Regions from separate parts of the Homo sapiens genome. Here all the other regions are linked to region 2. Evidence: promoter capture Hi-C in 16 types of primary human blood cells and fetal thymus (Javierre and others, 2016). All regions are on one chromosome and are shown on one strand. Each heading gives the region's core, a stretch centred on a gene start or on the middle of the fragment in contact. The rest is flanking DNA. Distances are from core to core; before and after follow the strand shown. Region 1 overlaps GRK5 (G protein-coupled receptor kinase 5). Region 2 holds the start of RGS10 (regulator of G protein signaling 10). Region 3 overlaps BAG3 (BAG cochaperone 3).

Region 1 (3,995 bases), core at 256-2,755, 81 kb after region 2:
AAAGGAAAGAGGTTCAATAGACTCACAGTTCCACATAGCTGGGGAGGCCTCACAACCATGGTGGAAGGCAAGGAGGAGCAAAGGCACATCTTACATGGTGGCAGGCAAGAGAGAGTGTGTGCAGCAGAACTCCCCTTTATAAAACCAACAGATCTCATGAGACTTATTCACTATCACTAGAACAGCATGGGGAAGACCCGCCCCCATGATTCAATTACCTCCCACTGGGTCCCTCCCACAACATGTGGGAATTATGGGAATTACAATTCGAGATTTGGGTGGGGACACAGACAACCACATCAGACTTCCATAAGGCCGAGGGATGTCCCCCTTATTTATCTATGAAAGGCCAGACACAGACCCTCCAAATTCCCATTCTTTGCCTCATAAATGATTAGCTGAACGGCCTGTTCCCACTGATCCATGGAAACAAAATGCTTGCTAGCCAGACTTGGGTAAGTTTCACTCCTTCTTCCTGGACTCTGAACTTTGACCAACTCAGCCTGAGCCTGCAGGCAGCCCCTCCAGAGCAGAGGCTGCCTCAGGGTGACATTTTCTGATCTATTTATCTAATCACATCACCCTTTCATCCCACTTTCCACACCTGGCTCTTTCTAGCCTTGTTCTTTCTACAAAAGAGATCATCTTTTCGCCTAACCCTCAAGACCCTTGCAGATGGCATGGTCAAGCCTTCTGCGTTTTGCAGTGCTCTCCATCCCAGCCCCTGTTGCAGTAGCCCCTTTCCTCCCTTGCAAAAATCTTTCAAATAGTTCTCTCCCCACTGAGTCTGGATTTGTGTTTTATTTGACGTGTGCTTGCAAAGTCAAATCTACAAGACAAGGCACATTTCTGAGCAGACTGGCTTTTATATCTGTCTCTCACTCTCCTCCCCTGGTGGCTTCCCTCTCCCTGTAGGTAACTTTTTTCCTTTTTTTGGTTTATCTTTTCATTAAAAATATGACAGTAGGATTCTATGTCGTATCCTCTTTCCTTTTGTTTAAGAACAGTGGTAGCCAATTGTACCCACCTGCTTCCATTTGCAGGTAAGAGCCTCACTCTCTTCAGCCCTCTGTGACTCTGAAAAGCCATCGGCAGGAAGATCAGTGGCTGCTTTGCCCTAAGCGTCCTCAATGAGATGAAAGCGCTTTGTAAACCAGTGGGCCTCAAACTGGAGTGTGCACCCCAGTCACCTGGGGGTCCTGTTCATAGGTCCCACCCAGACTCCTAACTCAATAGGCTTGGCACGGGGAGCAGGAACCTGGATCTCTCAGAAGTTCACAGGGCTGCTGCTGCAGCCTGTAGTGGTGAGGGTGTCAGACTTTGAAAACTACTGGTATCAGTTCCCCTCAAGGGCAGGGCAAATGTTGGTGAGTATTAATAAAACTTCTGTACCATAGAATACAGGACCTGGTTTGACTATAGACCCAGCCTGCCATTCCGGTTTGGGGCTTTCTTTCTTTCTTTTTTTTTTTTTGGGACAGAGTCTCACTCTGTCACCCAGGCTGGAATGCAGTGGCACAATCTCAGCTCACTGCAATCTCCACCTCCAGGGTTCAAGGGATTCTCCTGCCTCAGCTTCCCAAGTAGCTGGGATTACAGGTGCATGTCACCACACCCAGCTAATTTTTATAGTTTTAGTAGAGTTGGGATTCCACTATGTTGGCCAGGCTTGTCCCAAACTCCTGACCTCAGGTGATCCACCCACCTAAGTCTCCCAAAGTGCTGGGATTAGGTGTGAGAAATGGTGCCCAGCCAGGTTTGGGGCTTTCTAAGGCCTCTCTGCTCAAAGTGTTGTCTGAGGACCAGTGGCTTCGCCCAGGAGCACTCAGAAGCACGGGCTGTGCCCTACCCCACACCCACTGAATCAGATTCTAGTTTATCAAGATTCCAAATGAGTCAGAACTCCTGAAGCATGAGAGGTGCTGACCCAAGCCTTCTGCGCCTTGTGGTTTACCTGCCAGTAGTTGATGCCCCTAGAGTGCAAACTCTAGATCTCACCCCATGGCCTGCTGAATGGGCTTTTCCTGCTCTCTCCCCCAAGATAGCCAAGCCAAGGCCCCATGACAACTGGCCCAGGCCTGGGCAATGTTTGGCTTGGCAAACTGCTGGGCAAAGTGGTACCAGGAGCCCTGCCATGCTGTGGCTCAAGGGTCTGTTCCCAGGGCCCCAGCTCTCCCTCCTCTTCACGGTCTCTGGATATGGCAGGTGGATCCTAACAGCTTTAAGGACTGCCTCCCACAGGGGTTGTGGCCTGGAGCTCTCTGGGGCCCAGGGATGCTGGCTTTGAGCCTTTCCTGAAAATGAGTTAGATGGAGGCTCTTTTGGTCCCCTCACCAAATCCACGGTTGTCTGGTGTGGACAGGACGGGCACAGGCCTGAAAGGTGTGGAGGAGGTAAGAGGTGGGTACTCCTCCTGCCCAGCCCAGCCCATCTGCCTGGGAAGGGGCCAAAGCTGCTGGGCAGGGCAGTGTAAATGGTGAGGGGGGCCGGAGCTGTGGGGCTGGAGTTTCTCCCACTGATACCCTACCTGTCCCAGGAGAGACGGCAGCTTCTGTCTGCCTGGAGGCTGGCTCGGACAGTGGAGTTTCTGGAGTGGTGAAAGCCCCAGAGACAGAGCTGGGCCCTGCGGGGAGGTCCTCCCCATCCCTGTTCTGAGATCAGAGCATTTCCTGCCCCACCCCTGCATCTTCTGCCCTTGAGGGCTACCCGCCTGGTCGGCAAATCCTCGGCCATGAGTACCCCCATTCTTCCATCCTGGGAGAGCCCCTTCCTCATCCCACCCTCATTGCCAGCCGGCCCCTCTTTCTCTCTGTCCAATTCCACAGGGTCCCCCAGTAAGCAGATTCTTCCCCAGGCTCCAGGCCTGGCTGGAGTGTGGCTCCAGGCAGGGCTGGGTGTGAATGGGTGTGAGGTCAAGGCCAGGCCCCTGCTCAAAGCCAAGGCCTCTGTGCTGGGTGGCCCATGAGTTCCCACTGAATCCTCCAGCAGCCACATCACTGAGGTGTGATCTCATTTACAGATGAAGACACCGAGGCTCAGAGTGGCCTGTTTAAGGTCATATATCATCAATAGGGTGTTGGCTGAGTCCCAGCCCTGCTCATTCTATTTATTTATTTATTTTTAAAATTTATTTTTACCTTTATTTTTAAAACAAACATCTCAGAGTAAGCCCTGCTCATTCTAACAGCTAAGGCAAGCAGGTCGAGGGAGACAGAAGAGGTCTTGGGTCCCAGATCGGGAATCCCAGTTCTGAGGTGCAAGGGCCGCTGTGCCTCACTGGCTACCCCACGTTCCAGCATGTGCCTGGCATGGCGAAGCCTGGACAGCCAGAAAGGCTCCCTCTGCAGAGCCCGCCTCTTCTGTATAAGACCGGGCAGGTGGGACCTGCAAATGCGCCGTTTGGTGTCATGGTGCTGGCACTGGCTCGAGCCCTTGTCACCCAGCTCCTCCTTGGTGCCAAGTGGCCAGAGCACTTCTAGAACCATCTGCTGGGTTTGAGATCAGAAGCCGGCGGCCTGGTAAGAATTCAGGTTTTCTTGGGCCCCGCCCACTGGAGCTGGGCCATCTGTGGGCAGTTCAGGGGGTGGTCAGTGTGGGGGCCGGGTTTGGGTGGGTTCCACTGTCAACCTTAGGAAAGGGTTAGCCCAAAGGCCACAGGCATCTTGGGGACAGCTGTCGTATGCAGAAGAAACAGAACAAGAGCTCAGCAGCAGGAGAGAGATGCCGATGCCATGCTACTTCCATTAAGGAATTTATTTCTCTTTTAAAAACAACAACAGTGGCTCCATCTAGATCCAGCGGCACTGTGACGCGATAGACGGAACACACAGAGTTACAGCAGCGGGAGAACAGAAGCCGCTGCCTTCAGGAGTGACCGCCACTGTGGAAGTTTCCATTCATTAATGTCCAAATCTCCCTGAAAAAAATTAGAAAGCTTTGGATGCTAGAAGGATTCTTATTATTTTAACAACACCAAAAGCCACTAAACTCTTCTA
Region 2 (3,807 bases), core at 115-2,614:
GGGGGAGAGTGCTTGGAAATGCTCGGAGGAAAACGACTTTTGGAGGGGGAATAGCGGGGAGGGAAACAACAAGCAACCACCGGCCACACTTGGGGTGCAACTGGGGCTGTGGGGTGGGTAGAGGGAGAGGGAAAGTGAGCAGAACTGGAAGCTCAGAATAGAAGATACAAAAGAAAGTGCCAAGTAGTGAAAAAAACTGCAAAAGGACGGGGGGATGGGGGGAGGGCGACTGGGGAACGGTTTGGAAAAATAGCAATTAGTACAGCTAAAAATAAAGACCAATTTAGAGACAAAGCCAGATACACAAGGAGAAAAATAAAACTCGCCAGAAAGACAATTTCTTGCAAACCAAATGTTCAAGAAAATGGGGGCTAATGACATCCCCTCTGGGGCTGCTCCATAGAAGAAATGAAATAATAGGAGACCGTAGAGCGCGCAGCGCCCAGCAGGTGACGCCGTGGGGGCTTGAGTGGTCCCGGTCGTGGAGCCTGAAGGCCCTGCCAGAGGCAGTGCCCACGTGTCCCCAAAGTTAGAGAAGTGTCCCGAGAGCGCGGTGTGCGGGACAGAGCACCGCCCGGCGCAGGAACCGGGGGGTTCCTGCAGAATCCTCTCAGATCTCCCCGAGTCCTGGCGCCCGCGCGGCACGGCCGGGGAGAGGGCGCCCACCCGCGGCGGCTCGGCTAGCTCAGCGCACGGGCCCTGGGGACGCCCCACCCGCATTCGCGGGGCGGGAAGGCGCAGCGCCCACGAAGTCGAGGAGCAGCCAGGCCCCAGCAGGCGGGGATCCTGGTGACGAGGAGGCAAAGGCCACAGGCTGGGCCGCGCCCGGACTCTGCAGAACCGCGAGGCCTAGGCTTCCCAGCCTGTGACCCGGGAGGGGACCCCGCCCGCCACCTGCGAAGGCTCGCTGAGAGCCCCGAAGCGCGGTGCGCCCGCGGCGCCGTGCCAGTTTCTCCGGGGCTACAGGGAGAAGGCGGGAGACCGCGATGGGCCCGGGAGCTTGAAGCTGGGCGGGGCGGGCCGGGGCGGCATCTCAGGCGAGGGCCAGGGACCCCGGGACGCGCTAACCGCCTCCGCGGGGCTACTAAGTTCCCGGCGGCGCGGGCTCCCTCTGGGCCAGTGCACCTTATCCCAGGCGCGGGGCACACTCTGGGCGATCGGGGGTCACCCGGGGCTGCCCTGCCCTGCCCCGCCCGGGCACCCCGGAGCGGAACCGCGAGTCCTCACCAGCGGGGGCGGGCAGGGCGCACTGAGCGCGCCACGCGGCGCCTGGCTAGGAGGAGGGCGGCGGGCGGGGACCTAGAGCTCCGGGGCGGTGCTGAGCCCGCTCCTCCTCCTTGCCCTCCTCCTCCTCCTCCTCGCCCTCCTCCTCCTCCTCGCCTTCCTCCGGCTCAGCCGCCGCGCCGCCGGGCTGCTCCTTCTTCCTCCTCGGGCGCCCGCGGCGATGTTCAACCGCGCCGTGAGCCGGCTGAGCAGGAAGCGGCCGCCGTCAGGTAAGCGGCTTCGGGGGCCCGCGGGCTCGGGGTCGGGGCGCCGTTTCGCCCGCCCGGCCTCCTGCCCTCCCTCTTGTGCTCGGGCGCGGCTCGGTGGTACCTCCCAGACTGGAGCCCCGGCCGACCGCACCACCTCTCCCCGCTGGGTACCGCACCTTCGCGGTCCCAGCCGCGACGGGAGCGCAGAGCTCCTCCGGGAGCCCCGGGGAGGAAGTTTGGCTGAAAGAGGAACAGCCGCAGTTTTCTTTTTAGTGATGGTCTGGGAGAAAAAGGAGCGCCCCAAATCTCCAAACTTTGGAGGTGACATGGGGCTCCAGATTCCGAAAGCGGAACGGCGCGCGGGCTTCTCCCTCCGTGACGCTCTCCGCCTCCGCTGCGGGCGTGGGTGGAAGGATGCCGAGCGCCCGGGGGAGCACGGCTGGACCCGGGCATCCGACTGGGCCCCTGGGCCTGGGGCGTCGGGGGCCTTCGCTTCTGCCGCGAGGAGCCAAAAGGTGGGATCGCGAGGGTGGCGGAACCCCAGGATGGAGAAGGGCACTTCTGCGGTCCGAGCCAGCGAAGTTCTGACGTTACGAAGGATTCGCCTTGGCCGTCACTTTGGGCCAGCCTGAGCCACGATCTCGGGCAACTTGATAGGCCAAAGACCCCACGGTGAAGGTGGAGCCGTGCCCTTGATTCCGGTCCTTCCACCCTTTTGCTCATCACAATAGCTACGACCTGTGCAGGCCTTTGGGTGCGCCAAGGGCTTTGTCCACCGCGTTGGGTGAACTCTCCCTTCACCCCTAGGACAACCCGGTGAGTGAGGAGGGAGCGGAAGCCAGGCGCTGTTAGGTAACTTGCCCCAGTCACACTCCGCAGGTGATGGGGAGGCTTTCAAACCCAGGTTCCCCTGACTCTGAAGTTCGGGGGCTTTGCCGGGCTTCCCACGCCAAGATTCACTTCTGCTTGGCGCTCAGAGTCCCAACGCGTTGGTGCATTTCCTTTCTGCTCCTGGTATTTTATGAGGGACATTGTGGTTTAGAGACTGGGACCAGACTGGCTGGATCCGAATCTCACCTTCGCCATATTCACCAGCCGTGGGACCTTTCTGCAGAATGAGGTTCTGCACAGTGGGAATAACAGTAGCTACTCGCCTTTTAAAGTACTTAATTGGAACCTGTCTTCCATCCATCAGGTTTTGCAAATTATTGTATTTAATATGTAGGATTTCATAGGGTTGTTGTAATGATCTTACATTGTTGCCCGGCAAGTACTAAGTGCTCCGTTAGCGTTAGTGGTCATGTAAACCTTTTTGTGTTGCATGTGAGTCAAAGAATTCCCTTGTGGGTGTTAATGTTAACCAGTCTCTATGGTTGGCACAGGCCTGTGGAGCGCTGCTCAGAGCCTGGACTCGAATTAAACTCTTGGTTCTAACCTTGACTCTGTCATTCAGCAACACTGGGCAAATTACTTGATCTCTCTGTGCCTCCGTTTCAGTGATGTGCTGGAGCTGGCTCAAACTGGCTTGCAAGAGCCAGTTGCCAAATATTCAAAAAGTTTGGAAACTGGTTGTAAACCATAGGTAGCTTGAAAGTAGTTATGATGGGATATTTACATCATGAAAATCAACAAAGCTAAAAATGAAGGCTTCATTTTGACTCAGGAGAGCTGATGTTCCAGCACCTTTCTCCACCTGCAAAGTGGGTTTCATAGGGTTATGGGATTAAATACTCAAAACCATATGAAGCCCCTAGTACAATGTGTGGCACATAATAAAAGTGTAATAATTAGTAGCTTTTCTCCCTTTTGCCTGTTATAAATAGAGCTGCTATGAATAGCCCTGTACGCGTTACTTATTACTTTAGATTGCTTTTGGGTTGAAGACTGACAGATAGAACCATTGTATCCTGGGAGATACATGGATTTGGGGTGATTTTGCGTGTAGCCAGGTTGCACCCCAAAAAGGCTGAAGGCAGTTTTAGGGAACAAATTATTTCAGGGCAACAAATTTTAAACCTCATAAAATGTGGTTACATCACTGACAGAAAGGTCGGTCTCAGGCCGGGCTCAGTGGCTCACACCTGTGATCCCAGCACTTTGGGAGGCTGAGGCAGGAGGATTGCTTGAGCCCAGGAGTTCCAGATAAGCCTGGGAAACATGGCAAAACCCCGTCTCTACAAAAAAATTAAAAAATTAGCCAGGCATGGTGATGCGTGCCTGTAGTCCCAGCTCCTTAGACGGCTGAAGTGAGAGGATGGCTTGAGCCTGGGAGGTTGAGGCTACAGTGAGCTTAGATCGTGCCACTGCACTTCACCCTGGGTGACAGAGTGAGATC
Region 3 (3,711 bases), core at 484-2,983, 110 kb before region 2:
TGAATGCTAAGGAATTTTCCGTAAAAAGTCTCCCCAGTTCACTGGGGCACAGCTCTGTGCTGGGAGCTCTTGGACAGCTGAGCTGTTTACAGGCTCCTGACGCACAGAGCTGGCACTCTGCGATTCTAGGCTTTTCTGAATTGACAGTGAATAAGAACCTTCACGTATACGGTGTCTGATCTTGCTGCCAGCCACACGAAAAAAAATTTTTAAGAGACTCTTTTCACAGTGCCAGGGGCTGCTCTCTGCACAGCTATGGAAGTAGGGTCTGGCTGCTGCCAGCTCCCAGCCTCTCCAGCCCTGCTGTAAGATGCTGTGTCATTGGGAGAAACAAAAAAGAGCTTCTCCAGACCTGTAAGGATGAACTTAGGGAATCAATACTGAAGTCCTTTGTGCAGAGAAGGCCATTCACAAAGTGACAAAAAGGAGCAGGCCTCTGGGGACCTTTAGGAGCCCAGGACAACTCTGCAGTTCTTAGGAACCAATGGAAGGCTTCCCGGGACACACCTGCATCCTTCACGGGCAGCTCTTCTGTATCTGCCTTCGCGCTCTGGGCAGGCCCATGTTCTACCCTTCTCCACAGTCACTCGTTCCATCTTTTCTGAGCCTGTGGACCCTGCCAGGCATCAAGAGGCAGCGATGAAGCACACAGACTCTGCCCCAGAACTCCTAACAGGGGTGTGACCCCAAGACAAAGCAGAAAAGTGCAGAGCTTAAGCAAAAAGATTCAAATTAAAATAATATGGGTTCCAGAAGAGAGACAGCCTGCTTCGGACCAGGGAGAGGCAGGACATGCTTTGTGGAGAACAGTCTCAAAGTGGGCAGACTTGTCCTCTATATGGCATTTAACACTGTGACTCGCACACTGTGGGCACTCAGTGAATTTCAGATGGGGTAAAGGAGTGAGTAAAGAGTCGGGCCCATCTCCTAAATCCAGACCCAGGTTCAAGAAACAGGCCAACATTTCTGATTAACTATACAAAGATGGACTCAGGGCTGTTTATCACCTCAAGCTGTGCCTGGGGAGTATAAAGCAGCCGTGCCTGGGGAGTATAAAGCAGCCAGGCCCGCTAAAGGCAAGTCTGTCTGTCACCCCTTCAGGAACTCAGATGGGGGTAAAGCCACAGAAGTCTTTCTGTTTATCACAGGCCAGGCACACTGCCTCTCCAAATCTGCTGTCCCATGTGTAAGACACTTCATAGTTTCTAGTTCAAAGAGCTGGTGAGGATTTAGAGATAAGGTTACCAAAAGCACCCACTCATATCTGGCACATATATATATATATGTGTGTGTGTTGACAGACAGAAAAATACTACATTCATTCCTCTCCCCCCAAATTCTTCCTAAGCTTTTGCAAGCTGCCTGGCTTCCTAAAAGGCTGCCAAGGTCCCAAAGATACCTTCATCGAAATACGTGACGACTTAGTAACACCAGATACCTCACATGGTATCACATGTGCCACATGATGCATACAGATGAATCCTGCACCTGCAAAACAAGGGGCTCTGGAGCCTGCCTCAGACGGCCGGCTGATGGGCATGGTGGCGCTCACCTATAATCCTAGCTACTTGGGAGGCTGAGGCAGGAGAATCGCTTGAACCCAGGAGACGGAGGTTGCAGTGAGCCAAGATCGCACTACGGCACCCCAGCCTGGGAGACAAAGTGCGACTCCGTCTCAAAAAAAAAAAAAAAAAAAAGAAGGCCAGCTGAGTCTATGCTCTGAGGCAGAAGCAGATCAGAGGTGTCTACTTGACTCACAACAAAAGGGAACCCAGGAGGGGCTGGAGAATAACACGGTCAAGTGTGACACAGGGTTCACTCGTGTTCGCCAGTGCCAGAGGGTCTCAAAGATCCTAATAAGCAAGGCCTTTGTCTTCAGTTTCTTCTGTAAGCTCTCTTAAACATTTAAGAGCAATATTAAAACAGCAAAACTTAAAGGAGAAAGAGTAGGTCTGGATGATGAATGGTTTTCTACTTTGGATGATAAACATCAGAACATCATTTTTAAATGTCAATAGAAAGTAATAAACATGTAGAGTGGTTTATATAAGGTGACTGTGTGTCATTCCAGAAACGAGGACAGCACTAAGCAAGCCTCATGGGTGGTATGAAGCTTTCTGACTCACAAGCAGCCCTGATAGCATCCAACAGTTAAGCCTTCCCAGCCCTGGCCAACGTCAAACGCTGCCGCAGGTCCTGTGTACAGGCTCCACCCTCATAAAGGGCAAATCTACCCTACAAAACGGGACAAATGATGTTCTCGGAGGTGCAGTCGGTTCTCATGTGAACAACACAGGCTGTTCTTCAGAGGGGAAAATGAAAGTCCTGGATGAGCTGGGCTCCAAGGCATCTGGCCATGCTGTTCATCTGCCCCCCAACAAATCACTTTCATGCAGTCGCACAGGAACTTGCTCAGCCACAACTGCAACTTGCTGGAAATACGAAGGAGAGAACGGCCACTCATTTCCTGATTGTGCTCCGCCTCTGCTAAGAGGCATAACAGCTTGCAATAGATCTGGAAAGAGCAAAACGATCTCATCTTTAAGAAAATTCAGGAGGCTCTGCTGAACCTTAAGCAAAATAAATGGGTCTCTCTACTTCAATCATAACTCGAAACATTTCCAGTGTTATCTGAAAGGATGTTTCTATCTCCCTGTCACAGTGCCTGAGTATAATCTGTTAAATGATTATGGTGAGATTCTGCCAGATGGGCAAGACAAAAAGAAAAGGCTCTGGCTTGCTTCTTCCTGGGGTCCAGGAAGATCTCTGGACCACCTCCCCACTCTCGCACTGCCAGCCACCCTGCCAGACTTTGCAAGGTGCTGTCTCGGCTCGCTTCCCATGTCATCCCCATATTCACACCTCCAGAAGCCCGCGTACCTGGGGAGTTTCCCCAAGAAGGAAAATGGAGGCTTGGGAAAATGCTCTGCAGGATAGATGTTCAGGAGGCACTAAGCCGCAGCTCCTCCTCCCCAAAATGGGATCACTGGCCATCCGTGGCTCCCACTGCCAGTGCAGCAGAATCAGAACCACCAAAAAAGCTTTCTGGACTTAATAGTTTTCTGGGCCCTACACTGAGCAATTCAGATTTGAACATGGGGTTGGGGCAGGGAGGCGATGAGACACAGCCACAATCTGTGTTCTTAACAGGACTCCCTGGAGAGTGCCAGACTGGTAACCCCCAAGATCCATGGAGCTAGAGCGGCCCTGCTCCATGAGGGAGGAAGGTCTCCCTCTCATCCCAAGGAGGCCTGGCGGGAACAGCACTCCAGAACATCCGGCCTCTGTTTATTCAGGGAGGAGCCTGGAGGAGTGGCTGCACCAGCACTGAATGCCATCCTCTGCCAGGAAAGGGCCTGGACTGGTATGAACTTGCCAAATTAGTGGGAAGCCCAAGTGTGCAGAAAATCAAAATCCAGGAAGACTGCAGGTGGGGAGGCCCAGCTGCTTAGAATGGGGCTGGATGAAGCCCAGCATCTTTGCCGGGAGCCGTCCTGCTTCAGCAATGACAGAAGATACTTGCTTTCGCTCTGCCCCTCTGTGAAAACAGGGAGTTGTCCTAACTACTTCAGGAGAAGGCGGAAGATCAACTGCAAGACGGCAGTAGAAGACGAAATAAAATACAAAGGTCTAGTCTTTTCTTTCCATTTTCTTACTAACGTGATTAAATTTTAAACATCCTGAAGCTGAGTCCTCCCCCAAAAGAGAGGT

What was found. Contacts are between HindIII fragments. The CHiCAGO score rates a contact against its expected background, and 5 or more counts as called.
Region 1: a fragment that was not itself captured here is called in contact with the fragment with the promoter of RGS10 in region 2 in 6 of 17 cell types (non-activated CD4 T cells, naive CD8 T cells, naive CD4 T cells and 3 more); the score reaches 10.7 in non-activated CD4 T cells.
Region 3: a contact is called between a fragment that was not itself captured here and the fragment with the promoter of RGS10 in region 2, in 2 of 17 cell types (naive CD4 T cells and naive CD8 T cells). The highest score is 7.8, in naive CD4 T cells.

What each region holds. Positions count from the first base shown.
Region 1 is chr10:119,459,486-119,463,480 of GRCh38, reverse strand. It overlaps GRK5 (G protein-coupled receptor kinase 5), which reads right to left. Exons shown (of 16, transcript NM_005308.3): 16 at 3,736-3,995. Among named protein-coding and RNA genes, the nearest start is that of RGS10, 81 kb to the left of the region's middle. RefSeq lists an enhancer at 1,020-1,269. The HindIII fragment of the contact is 4,863 bases long and covers 1-3,936 here.
Region 2 is chr10:119,540,276-119,544,082 of GRCh38, reverse strand. RGS10 (regulator of G protein signaling 10) reads left to right here and starts at 1,364. Exons shown (of 5, transcript NM_001005339.2): 1 at 1,364-1,493. The coding sequence starts at 1,445. RefSeq lists enhancers at 1-109, 372-451 and silencers at 662-821, 872-941, 952-1,691, 1,742-1,911. The HindIII fragment of the contact is 10,649 bases long and covers 1-3,807 here.
Region 3 is chr10:119,654,365-119,658,075 of GRCh38, reverse strand. The region is part of intron 1 of BAG3 (BAG cochaperone 3); the gene reads right to left. Among named protein-coding and RNA genes, the nearest start is that of BAG3, 4.8 kb to the right of the region's middle. The HindIII fragment of the contact is 765 bases long and covers 1,351-2,115 here.